2 separate regions of the Homo sapiens genome follow, and region 1 is linked to region 2. Evidence: promoter capture Hi-C in 16 types of primary human blood cells and fetal thymus (Javierre and others, 2016). All regions are on one chromosome and are shown on one strand. Each heading gives the region's core, a stretch centred on a gene start or on the middle of the fragment in contact. The rest is flanking DNA. Distances are from core to core; before and after follow the strand shown. Region 1 overlaps AAR2 (AAR2 splicing factor). Region 2 holds the start of MTCL2 (microtubule crosslinking factor 2).

Evidence for each region. The method cuts DNA at HindIII sites, captures the fragments that hold promoters and counts their contacts. A CHiCAGO score of 5 or more calls a contact.
Region 1: a contact is called between a fragment that was not itself captured here and the fragment with the promoter of MTCL2 in region 2, in 1 of 17 cell types (naive B cells). The highest score is 6.5, in naive B cells.

What each region holds. Positions count from the first base shown.
Region 1 is chr20:36,240,077-36,246,585 of GRCh38, reverse strand. It overlaps AAR2 (AAR2 splicing factor), which reads right to left. Exons shown (of 4, transcript NM_001271874.2): 2 at 5,961-6,509; 3 at 1,660-1,889. Among named protein-coding and RNA genes, the nearest start is that of AAR2, 6.9 kb to the right of the region's middle. The HindIII fragment of the contact is 1,143 bases long and covers 1,136-2,278 here.
Region 2 is chr20:36,858,927-36,864,825 of GRCh38, reverse strand. MTCL2 (microtubule crosslinking factor 2) reads left to right here and starts at 1,288. Exons shown (of 15, transcript NM_080627.4): 1 at 1,288-2,168. The coding sequence starts at 1,482. RefSeq lists silencers at 579-1,468, 1,539-1,688. The HindIII fragment of the contact is 4,947 bases long and covers 1-2,430 here.

The DNA.
Region 1 (6,509 bases), core at 458-2,957, 620 kb after region 2:
CCACTGCCAGAGGCAAGTTAGCAGGCTAATGCCTCCTCACACTGCCTCACAACCCATAACCAGTACCTTTGGGGAAAATTTTCCCCACAGAGGAAGGACAAAGGGGTTTAATTTCTCTGTTATATGAAGAACCAGTAAAAGGACAGTTTTATAGCTCTTCTGAGTGGAACAGACCAGGCTCAAATCATGCGCTTGACTGACTCATTGCCATGGTTTACACAGGTCCTTCAACTGCCAGCTTTAAGTCAGATGCCTGCTCACAGGGACTCATCCAACAGTAGGTTGGCTTTAGAAAAGCGTTCTGTACCTCTGAGAAACAGGACCTCGATGAAGTCTTCACTGATGTCAATCAAGAATCCTTTCTGGGGGATTCACACTGTGTTCACTACACAAGGGCATAAGCACAGGCAGGAAACCAAGACTCAGGCCTGGGTACAAATCCTGACCTCCACCTGCCAGCTGTATGACTTCAAGTAAGTGATTTAACCATTCTCAAGTGTTCCCATTTGTAAAATGGGAATAATACCCCCATCTTACAAGGCTCCAAAGGGATTCAATGAGTGAACAGGGTCTCACTCTGTTGCCCAGGCTGGAGTGCAGTGGCACGATCATAATCATTGCTCACTATAGCCTCAAACTCCTGGGCTAAGTGATCCTCCTGTCTCAGCCTCCCAAGTGGCTAGGACTACAGGTGCACATGACCATACCTGGCCAATTTTTTAATTTTTGGAGAGACGGGGTCTCACTATATTGCCCAAGCTGGTCTTTAATTCCTGGGCTCAAGTGATCCTCCTGCCTTCACCTCCCAAAGTGTTGGGATTACAGTCATGAACCACCACGCCCAGCCCCAATATTTAACGAATGCTCGTCCCTTCTGTTACCCCGAGTGGGATTGGAAGGTTGGTGAAAGGCTGCCTTATATGGAGCAGGCCTCATGGGGGTATTACACACAGGGAGAAGAAAGAAGCTCATGGGAGGGAAAGTATGGAAACTGACAGTGGCAGCTTCTGCCTCTTCTATTCTTGAGAAAGTTACACAATGTGAGTGACAGAGGCTGTCCCAAGTACATAAAGGACTAATCTGTTTGCAAAGGGAGGAAATAGCATAGGATGAAGATTGTAAGTTGTTTGAAGCTTCTTTCCTAATTACCACTCATAATGAAAATTTAATTGCCAAGTTAAAAGCAAATTTCACTTTTTCTGTCATAGAATCTCTGCAGAAACTGGCACATTTTGTTTGAACAGGAAATCAAAGTTATTTTAATGCTTAAATGAGATCTAAGGAGCTGCAGATGTTTCACTGGGAATAACAAACTTCAAAATTCTGCTTTACTGGGTTGTAGCAATTCATGGCTACAGGGAGAAAGAAACGCTGTTTTAAGCTGAGTAAACCAAAGCAGTGGGAGGAATTCAAATCCAAGTACCCCAGTGTTAGGCACTCTGGGGACGAGGTGTAGGGAGAGGGTGGTACAGAGAGAAAATTTCTGGCATAGAGGCACTTACAATTGAGTAAGAGAGAGAAAAGCAGGAAATATCCCAAGACTAGGAAACTGAAATTTAAAAATTTTGGGGTCATGGAAGAATAGCGAGAAACAAAACACATACTGTTGCCTCAATTCTGACCCACATGTGCATCAGCTCAGTCAGAAAGACTGCTCACCTGTAAGGTGCTGGTGAGGAAGTTGTCTTGGGAGACAATGTCTACGAAGAAGTCAGCGGGGATCTCACCAAGCTGGTGGTACAGGATGGAGATGAGGTTGATGTAGAGGGTGTGGTGCTTCATCATGGCTGCTTCTGACCGGCACAGGAGGTTCAGGAGCCGCTTCCAATGCTCAAATGCCTCGTACACATTCCCCAGCAGGAAGCACACAAAAGCAAACTGGAGTTCACCTGAAAGGTGCAGAGAGGAGAAGTGATTCTGAGGGAGAGGAGGACCAGCTGACACTCTCCATCACTATTCACAAGGCCATGAATTCCACTGGACCTCAGCAACAGATGAGCTTTTATCCTTGTCACTCCTGCAGAGCCTGGCAGGAGATTTTGCACCTAACAGGTACTCAATAGATGTCTGCTGAACCGCTATGAATTCAAGCCATGGGAAACCAACCTGTGGCTTTGGATTTCTATAAAATCAGACTGCTAGAGAAGAGGTATTCCCAGTATTTGCCTGGCATTTTAAGTTTACAAAATGTGTTCATGGATATTATGCCAAGTGGATTTCAAACCTGGCTGCCCATCAGAATCACTGAGAGTCTGTTAAAAGTAAAGCTACCCAAGCTTCACCCTCAGAGGTTCTGGTGGAGGAGAGATGATGGGGCCTTCGTATCTGTAGCTCTAACAAGCTCCCCAGGTGATTCTAATGTGGATGGTCTGCTCCAGGGTCAGGAAATACTGCACTATACCATGTAACCCTCAGCCCAACTCCACAAGGCGATCAGGAAGATGGTATTTGCCTCATTTCATAGATAAGGTCAAGGGCTTGCCCAAGGCCACACATCTAATGCTTCACAATGTGGGCAACGGAAAGATAAAACAGATTCTCCATTGGGTGGGAACAGTTCTGGAACCTCCCACAAAAGAAAAATTCATGAGTACTTATTCCAGGGTCAGCCTGCCAGGCAGATTATTTTTGTTTGCTTAACCACAGGGCTCTGTGATTTAATCTCTATGAGCAGCTTGGTGGCTAAGAGCATGGGCTCTGGAGCCAAACTGCCTAGCTTCAAATCTTAGCTCTGCCACTTAGCAGCTGTGTGACCTTGGGCAAGTTACTCAATCTATTAAGGCCTCAATTTCCTTATTTGAGGGTTGTAGCAAAGATTACATGAATGGATATAGTACATGTATAGCATTTAGAATAAGACCTGGCACAAAGTAGCACTCAAAAAATATTATGTTCCCAATTTCTATCAGATGCCCATCTCAAACAGAGACCTGATGATCCAGACACCACTGTCCCTGGGCAAGTAACTGGGTCTCTGGTTACCACAGAATACTGCTCCTCATCACAGGCATTCTCTCTACTTCAAAGGTGGCTGGAAATTTAATGAGGTATACATACATGTGGGCCATAAAAAGAAGAGATGTACTCAACACCAAATACCTCTTTAAATGCATGGCGTTTGATCTGTGCCACCTCCAGAGACCTGGAAAAACTAGCTCCCTGTTCCTAAGCATACGGAACTAAGTTTGATTTGTGTGAATAGCTACCTGGTTTAGAAATTTTGGATTTCTGACCAATATTTTCAAATATAGTCAAATTTTCTTTGTATAATATAGGTTAATGATTTGCTTCTTCAGCTGGCTTTACTTGGTTTGTGAAACTAAATATTAGCCTATTATTTGCGTTTAGGACATTTATTAAATTTGTGCATTTCTGACTTTATCTAAAATTAAATTATATTTTTCAAAGAGGTGTGATGTAGATTCAAAATTATCCCTGGACAGGTGCGGTGGCAGGGATAGTCCTAGCCCTTTGAGAGGTCAGTGGAGGAGGATTGCTTGAGTTCAGGAGTTTGAGACAAGCTTGGGCAACACAGGGAGACCCTATCTCAACCAAAAATAATTAGCTGGGCGTGGTGGCACACACCTGAAGTCCCACCTACTTGGGAGGCTGAGGTGGGAGGCTCAGTTGAGCCCAGGAGGTTGAGGCTGCAGTGAGTTGTGATCATGCCACTGTACTCCAGCCCATGTCACAGAGTGAGACCTTGTCTCAAAAAAAAAAAAAAAAAAAAACCAACAAAGTTATTCCTGTAACAGACCTTTTCGCAAGATATATTTTGAAGAATTGAAATGTTTAAGAGGTAGAAAGACAGGATTTCTATTCATTTTTAAGCCAGACTTTTAAAAGTTACTTATTATACGAAAATACTAATGCATTAAGATGTACCTGTTAAAGGCTGGGTGCGGTGGCTCACGCCTGTAATTCCAGCACTTTGGGAGGCTGAGGCAGGTGGATCATGAGGTCAGGAGATCGAGACCATCCTGGCCAACATGGTGAAACCCTGTCTCTACTAAAAATACAAAACAAAATTAGCCGGGCGTGGTGGCGGGCGCCTGTAGTCCCAGCTACTCAGGAGGCTGAGGCAGGAGAATGGCGTGAACCCGGGAGGCGGAGCTTGCAGTGAGCCGAACTCACACCACTGCACTCCAGCCTGGGCGACAGAGCAAGACTCCGTCTCAACAACAACAACAACAACAACAACAACAACAACAACAACAACAAAAGATGTACCTGTTAAAATATAGGTTATATCATTAGCTGAGCCAATGATATAAAAAGTCCTGTCTAGGCACAGTAATCCCAGCACTTTGGGAAGCCGAGGCAGAAGGATCACTTGGGCCCGAGAGGTTGAGGTGGCAGTAAGACATGATTGTGTGACTGACTGTACTCCACCCTGGGCGACACAGCGAAACCCTGTCTCAAAAAAAAAAAAAAAAAAAAAAGAAGTCCTACATTCAAATTTCTCACTGAACTTCCAACAAGAAAATATGCAAATTACCTGGAAAATTTATAAATATATATAAAAATAGCTGTTCAAAATGTGACACATATTTGCTGTCACTAGTATTTAAGAAATAAAGAAATATAAACAAGGTGCCATTTTTCAGCTATCCAATTGGAAGAGGCCTTTGTTAAACTGTCATGCCCAATGCTGTCAAAGGTGATGGGCAACAGGTTCCTACCAGCCAGCAAGGATGCAAAAACCTTCTCCTGGCAACATGCACAGTCTGACCCAGCAATTCTATCCCTAAATGTATGTGTAAGTACACACGAGAATGTTCACTAGATGATATATGTATATATATTTTTGAGACGGCTCTTGTTGCCCAGGCTGGAGTGCAATGGCGAGGTCTTGGTTCACTGCGACCTCTGCCTCCTGGGTTCAAGTGATTCTCCTGCCTCAGCCTCCAGAGTAGCTGGGACTACAGGTGCACACCACCCAGCTAATTTTGTATTTTTAGTACAGATGGGGTTTCACCATGTTGGCCAGGCTGGTCTCGAACTCCTAACCTCAGGTGATCCCCACCGGCCTCAGCCTCCCAAAGTGCTGGGATTACAGGTGTGAGTCACCACACCCGGCCACTTGATGATACAATAGAGAAAACAGGGAGCATCTCAATGGTCCATAACAGAGAACTGGTCCAATAACTATGGAACATGAAACAGCCACTAAAAAAGTGACTGTTAGTGACATGAAAAAACATTTATATTAAGGCAGATTACAAAGTAATAATATACTTCAATCCTGTTTTTATAAAAACTCATATATATACAGACACATATACTGAATTTTTAAGACTGAGAGGAAGTACATAGAAATAAACAGAGAAGACATTGAAATGAAATACATAGAAATACACAGAAAAAAAGGAACGTAAATATACCAAACTGTTTAAATGGTTATTTCTAAGTAGTGAGATTTGAAGTAAATTTTGTTTTTCTTTTATGATTATTATCTATCATTTTTGTAATAAAAGGGAAGGTAACAATAAAAACTGTAATGATTAAAAAAAAAATCACTGTCCTGTTCTAAGCCAGTTGAGAGACCAACATCTTGAGGGTCAGGAGCAAACTGAGCAGGCAGGTGAGAGGCTACAACGAACACAGGTCTGGCCCAGAAACCAAGAGTCCTGGGTTCTCGTCTCAGTTCAGCCACTCAGTGGGCCAAATCTTTTCCTTCTGTAGGACTGGGCTCTATCAGTGGTTCCCAAACAGAAGATTATCTGCACCAGGTTCACCTAGGATGTTTGTTTATTAGACAGATAGAAACTGCGGAAGCCCCACTCCAGATCTCTCAAATCGAAATCTCCAGGGCTAAGGGTAAAGACACACCTGTATCTTCAGCCTCCTAGCCAGGTTTAGTTGCTGCTGGACTAACACAAGATGTACTCCCTATTCCAAAACACCTCTGCTAATATCCTCCCCTTGGCCCACTCCCAAAGAGCCTTGTTCCTTCTCACCAAGCACATCCTGGGGGCTGCTGGGGAACTGCTTGTTGAGCACAGTCTCCAGGGCATAGCTCAGGTCCATGCTGTGCTTGGTTATCTCAGCTGGCGTGGCACCCTCTGGGAACATCTGCGTGGGCAGCTCTGAGAAGCGGATCTCTGTCCCGGCTCTGGGCTTCATCTCTGGTAGCCGGGCCAGGCCCTCTTGGTAGCTTTTGCACTCAATGCCACAGCGGGGTAGATTCTGCCCCACGCGGTCCTTGGTGTGCTTCATGGAGAGCACAGGTAGCACATCGGAAAAGGCACAGATCTGTCGATTCTCGGGCTGTAGCTTCTCCACTGTGGCTTCGCTGATGAAGTTGGTGAGTGAGATCCACTTCTTCAGGGTGGCATATGGGTAAGGCCCCAGGAACTGGTCCAGCTCCTGGAGGTTGGCCCTCATGGCCTCCACCTCAGACTCTGGGGCTGGGGACAGGTCTACCTCTTCCCTGAGTGTGCTCCAGCGCAGCACTGTCAGCCCCCGCTGGTGCAGGCTAAGGAAGAAACCCATACGAGGGCCTACTT
Region 2 (5,899 bases), core at 39-2,538:
CGTGTGGGGTCAGGGCAACCGTCCCAGCCCATGCCAGCCCCCACGGGGGCCAAAACCGCCTTCCAAAGCATCCGCTAGGCTGACATCTCGTAATAGGTCCCCTCCATTTTATTTTTGTTTTTATTTATTTGTTTATTTTTTTGAGATGGAGTCTAGCTCTGCCACCCAGACTGGAGTGCAGTGGCGCGACCTCGGCTCACTGCAACCTCCGCCTCCCGGGTTCAAGCGATTCTCCTGCCTCAGCCTCCCGAGTAGCTGGGATTACAGGCACGCGCTACCACGCCCGGCTAATTTGTGTATTTTTAGTAGAGACGGGGTTTCATCATGTTGGTCAGGCTGGTCTCGAACTCCTGACCTCGTGATCCACCCGCCTCGGCCTCCCAAAGTGCTGGGATTACAGGCATGAGCCACCGCGCCTAGCTACGGGTCGCTTCCATTTTAGCCGTACAGAGCCTGAAACCCGGGTCGGGGGCGCATGGGGAGAAATATCCGCCGGTCAAGGTGCGCGAGCCAGGCATGCACACAGGGCTTCACGGTCCCTATGCCAGGAGAGGGAAGCCGAGGCAGGGGGAGCCCGAGCGCGCCCGGGAGGTGTGAGCTTTGGGTCCCATCGGCGCCGCCTAGACCGTGAGCTTGGCGCGTGCACCCCAGGCTTCAGTTTACGCATCTGTGCGATGGGATCGCGGCTCCGGCGATGCCGGCTAAGGGGGCGGAGTTCGCGCACGCTCGGCACGGGGCGAGGGGCGAGGCGCTGGGCGTGCATGGATGCGGGTTCCTGCGAACTGAGGTCCGCCCGGCCTCGGCCCGGGAGTCCCGGCTCCCGCCGCTCTCGCAGGCCCTGCCCGGACGCCGGGCGCAGGGGCGCCTCCGCCGGGTGCCTTCCCCGAGCGGGCAGGGGAGGAGGCGGCGGAGCGGAGGAGGAGGGAGCCCGGGCCGCGGCTGCCCGCGCCAGCCTGACCCTCGAAGGGGTCGCTGTTGCCTCGCAGATCCCTCCCTCGCTCCCTGCCTGCGTCCCTCCCTGCCGCTCCCGCCGCGTCCGCCTTTTGTTCGCGGAACCGCGCGCCCCCGAGCCGAGGCGGCGGGGCGGGGAGCTGGCGGGGCTGCGCGGGGGGCGGGCTGCGCCGGGCGGAGCCGGGGCCCGGGCCGCAGCCGGACTCGGAGCCCGAGGGAGCGATCGGCGTGCGGGCGGCGGGGGCCCGGGCGCGCTCCGGGGGCGCGGCGAGGCCGAGGGGGCGGGCGCCGGGCGGAGCCGCAGCCGGAGCCGGGGCGCCTGGAGGCGGTCGGGCCGCACTCTCCGAGCCCAGAGCAGCGGAGAGACCGCGCGGCGGGGCTTGGGACGGGGACGCGGTGTCGGGGCCGAGGTGGGCCGAGAGCAGCCGCAGCCCCAGCGGCCGGAGCCGCGCCGGGTCCCTCCCCAGGGACGTCGAGGCCGGGCGGGCCTGGGCCATGCGCGCAGCTCGCTGAGGCCGAGGGAGGCCGCGATGGAGGCGCCGGCGGCCGAGCCCCCGGTCCGGGGCTGCGGTCCCCAGCCCGCGCCTGCACCCGCGCCTGCCCCGGAGAGGAAAAAGAGCCACCGCGCGCCGTCGCCGGCCCGGCCCAAAGACGTGGCCGGCTGGTCGCTGGCTAAGGGCCGCCGCGGCCCAGGCCCGGGCTCAGCAGTCGCCTGCAGCGCCGCGTTCTCCTCACGGCCGGACAAGAAGGGGCGCGCAGTGGCTCCCGGGGCGCGCGGTGCGGGTGTGCGGGTGGCCGGGGTCCGCACCGGGGTCCGTGCCAAGGGCCGTCCGCGCTCGGGTGCGGGGCCGCGACCGCCACCGCCGCCCCCCAGCCTCACGGATAGCAGCTCGGAGGTGTCGGACTGCGCGTCGGAGGAGGCGCGCCTGCTGGGCCTGGAGCTGGCGCTGAGCAGCGACGCCGAGTCCGCGGCCGGGGGCCCGGCGGGGGTCCGTACGGGGCAGCCGGCCCAGCCCGCGCCCTCCGCGCAGCAGCCCCCGCGGCCGCCCGCCTCCCCGGACGAGCCGTCGGTGGCCGCGTCGTCGGTGGGCAGCAGCCGCTTGCCGCTCAGCGCCTCGCTTGCCTTCTCCGACCTCACCGAGGAGATGCTGGACTGCGGGCCCAGCGGCTTGGTGCGGGAGCTGGAGGAGCTGCGCTCGGAGAACGACTATCTCAAGGTGGGGGCGCCCGGGTAGAAAGGGAGGTCGCAGGGGTCGCCGGCTGTCACAGTCCCGCGGGCCTGAGGCACCAGCCGGCCCTCCTTCCCACTGAACAATCCGGAGAAAGGGGCCCAAGCCCTCTGGGGACCACTCTGAGGTGGATCTGGGGCTCCCTCATTCCCCCCGCCCCCTCTCAACTTTATTTGGGAAGCGCGCTCCTGAAAAAGACCTTGGAACTGGCTACAGGGCCCTAACCTGGGAGCGGGGACTTGAGAAAGCTTTGGAGCGTTCTGGGAGGCGTTGCTGAGGTGGGGGTGGGTAGCCAGGGAAGGGATGGATCTCTGCCTTCAGCTGCCCAGAACCTCCACGCCCAGGCTCTCCTTCTTGGGACGGGATTGATAGACACCGCCGCCAGGGAAACCTGTGGCCATCCCCTGCCCAGGAAAGGCCTGAATGCCATCCTGAGTCGTTACCCAGGGCTTTCCCGGGCGCAGGCCTGTCTCTGCCTGCCTTTCTGGGCGGGTCCAGTTTGAAAGCATGACATCTGGGAACATCCCCTTGGCTGGAGTCCACTTCCGCCCAGCCTAACGGTCCCACAGCCTGGAGGATGATGTCGTGGGAGAACCGGTTCAGAGGCAGCTTCCTAAATCCCAGGACAGTGTCTTTTGCCCTCCCTGGGGCAGACCTTGTGCACACAACAGCCCCATTGGCCCCTCGTGGCCAGTGCCTTTCCATGTTCGCAGTGAGAGGAGGGCAACTGCCCACCTGGAACAGGACTTCCCTGTGGCCATGTGGGGACCCTAGGGCTTCCCCCGGACAGCAGGCTTTGCCTTTGCTTTTTCAGTGGACATGAGCACCTACTGGGTGCCAGCCGGGCTCCATCTGCACGCTTCCAGGTGCCATGGCAGCTTTAGGGACAGCCCAGCTTGCACGTGTTGACCTCTCCCTGGGAGGCTGGAAGCTTCCTGAGCTCTCCTGCCGCTGGCTGGGCACGGTTTTGGAGGAGGCTGAAATGTTGCCGACTCTTGTCAGTGGATGATGGCCTGGCACAACACCCAGAGTGCCCCTGGCTGTGGAGCTCACAGCATGCTGCTGGTTTATGTCTGCCCTCAGCACTTAGGTTTTAACTTTTCCTTGTGGCTCTTCTGACCAAATGGGCTTCTCCCTCATTAGAGTGTTGGTGTCTTGCTCAACTATGTCTCTGTCTCCCCATTTTCCCCGGGATCTGCTCTCCAGCCTGAGTTCTGTAAATGCTTGTAGTATGGAAGGACAAGGTCTGTCTGAATCAAGAGACACCTTTCCCCAAGCCAGGCCTCAGTCTCCTCATCCGTTAAATGGGAGGATGTCTTCCCAAGGGCCGGGTTCGGTGTTGGCAACTGGGAGTTCAGTCGGCTCTTTGAGTCTTCAGAAGCCGGTGGTAAGGAGAGGGCAAGTGGAAGGTGAGGAGGAGGAGGGAGGTGACGAGCCAGGACAAGGGTCTTTTGCTCCTGCCCTCTTGGTGCTCTGAGCTGCTTCCAGTGAGTGCTGCCTGAATTGGCCTTAACCGAAACTCTGAGTTCCTCACCCCTGCCTCCCGGTTCCTGCTACTCACTCTGGTGAAGGGGGATGGGTTGCAGAGCTTTGCTTCAGGGCTCCTAGGCACCCATCTCCATGGGCCCCTGTCCATCCCAGGAAGTCATCAGGCTCTGACCCAAAGTCTGTTTGAGGCACCCATGACTGTTTAAAGGGGAAAACAGTCCCAGGAGGCTGGGGGTTGAGCCCGGGATCTCACAGGGGCCGGGGTCCAGCTGGGGACATCCCACGTTTGGGCCAAGATGGAACCGTAATTTCCACCATTCATTCAGTGGCTCAGGCTTCGTGCTGCTATTGGATCTGGGGTCTGTCGCTTCCTGACGGCGTGATCTTTGGCAAGTTACTTAAAGGCCCTGGACCTTTGCTTTCTCATTTGTAAAAATGGGACAGTAACACGCTTTCCAACCTCAACGGTTAAATGAGCTGATTCCTGCAAACACCATTAGAGCACCTGGTATGTAGTAAACCTCTGATCACTGCTCTTGTCAGAGGCACGGGACATGTTTCCATGTGCACCCAGCCTGTTCTCTTGTGGATTCTGTGAGGGCAGAATAGATCCTCTTCATCACCCAAGGCAGGCTGGGCTCTTTCTCCTGGCCCCTCATTGGTTCATTCGGCAGCTGTTTATTTAGAACCTGCCGTGTGCTAGGGCAGATCTGGGATACAGCTGTGGACAAGGGAGGATGAGGTGTCTGTTTTCATAGAGCTTTTGGGGAGACCAGAATTAAACAATAGTCATACAAGAAATCACAACACAGATCATAATGAGGGTAAAGGGGACAGTTTGCCAGGAGCACACGAAGGTGGGGGCTGGGGTGCACAGGGAGGCTGAGGGCTGCAGGATGCCGTGGAGCCAACTGAGTGAGGGTCTGGAGTAAGAAGATTTCAGGCTAAGGGAAATTGGAATGCTCGTTGAGTTCAAGAACAGCGCTAAGGCCAGAGAGGGGAAGGAGTGTGGGTAAGAGAGGAGAGCAAGGCCAGCCCATGCCACTTCTCACTGTGTACATTTGGGTTAGTCCCTTAACTTCTCTGTATATCTGTTTATCCCAGCCGCCAGCCTCACAGAGGCAGGGTCAAAATCCAGAGACTAAATGTGGACCATAAATAGAGGGGTTATTACTGGAGGTGTTGTGTTGTTTATTCCACAGATGGGAAAACTGTGGCCAGAGTGGGTCCCAGAGCAGGGTCGCTAGGCTGCCAGGGCTTGGAGTAAGCATGTGTTAGACTCTTGATGTGTTTTCTGCCTTTCTGGACTACTTTGCCTCTAAGATGCAGAAACTGAGTACAAGGGAAAGGACTCCAAATCCCCAGTATGTCCCCTGCAGGAGCAGAGTTGAAGGAGGTCCCACCAGGTCTGGTGGGTGGCCCTGCTCAGGCTTACCTCCCCCTTGTAGGGGTCACTGGGAACTGTCAACTGCGAAGGACTGTGATCTCCAGTCTGGTATGGTCTGCTCTGGGGTCCAAGTGAGGAAAGCATAAATCGGGCAACTCTCTCCCAGTGAGAAGATAGAAGGAGCTTCTACAGAGAAGGTAGTGAGCTCACTGTCACTTTAATTATTCAGAGAGAGGCGGGATGACCTTGCATGCTTGGATAAAGATAGAGGGTTTGTGGAATGATTGCTTGAGAAGGGTTCAGAGGGAGATTGATGTGGTGGCTGCAGTTGAGCTGCCTGACCTTGGGTCCCTTCTAGCCAAGGAAGTCTGAAGGTTATTAACTACTGAGGTGCCAGGATTCTAAGATGCAGCTTTAGCTGCCGAGCAGACACGTCACCTGAGACCTTCAAAGACCCGGTGATCTGAGGTCTTCCAGCCTTTCATCACCACTAACCATTAAGCACGTACCATGTGGCCAGAACATGTAGGAACCCACTGGGTGTGGATGGAGGAATCTGAGAGTTGGAGTCTGAAGACCTGACTTTGAAACCTGACTCTCCCGTTTACTGTGTGGCCATGGGCAAGTTACCTGGCTTCTCTGAGCTGCTTTTTTTCTCATCTGTATAATAAAGGTGATGGGGCCTGGCGCAGTGACTCACGCCTGTAATCCCAGCACTTTGGGAGGCCAAGGCGGGCGGATCACCTAAGGTCAGGAGTTCGAAACCAGTCTGGCCAACGTGGCGAAACCCCATCTCTACTAAAAATACAAAAATTACCCAGGCGTGGTCGTGGGCGCCTGTAAT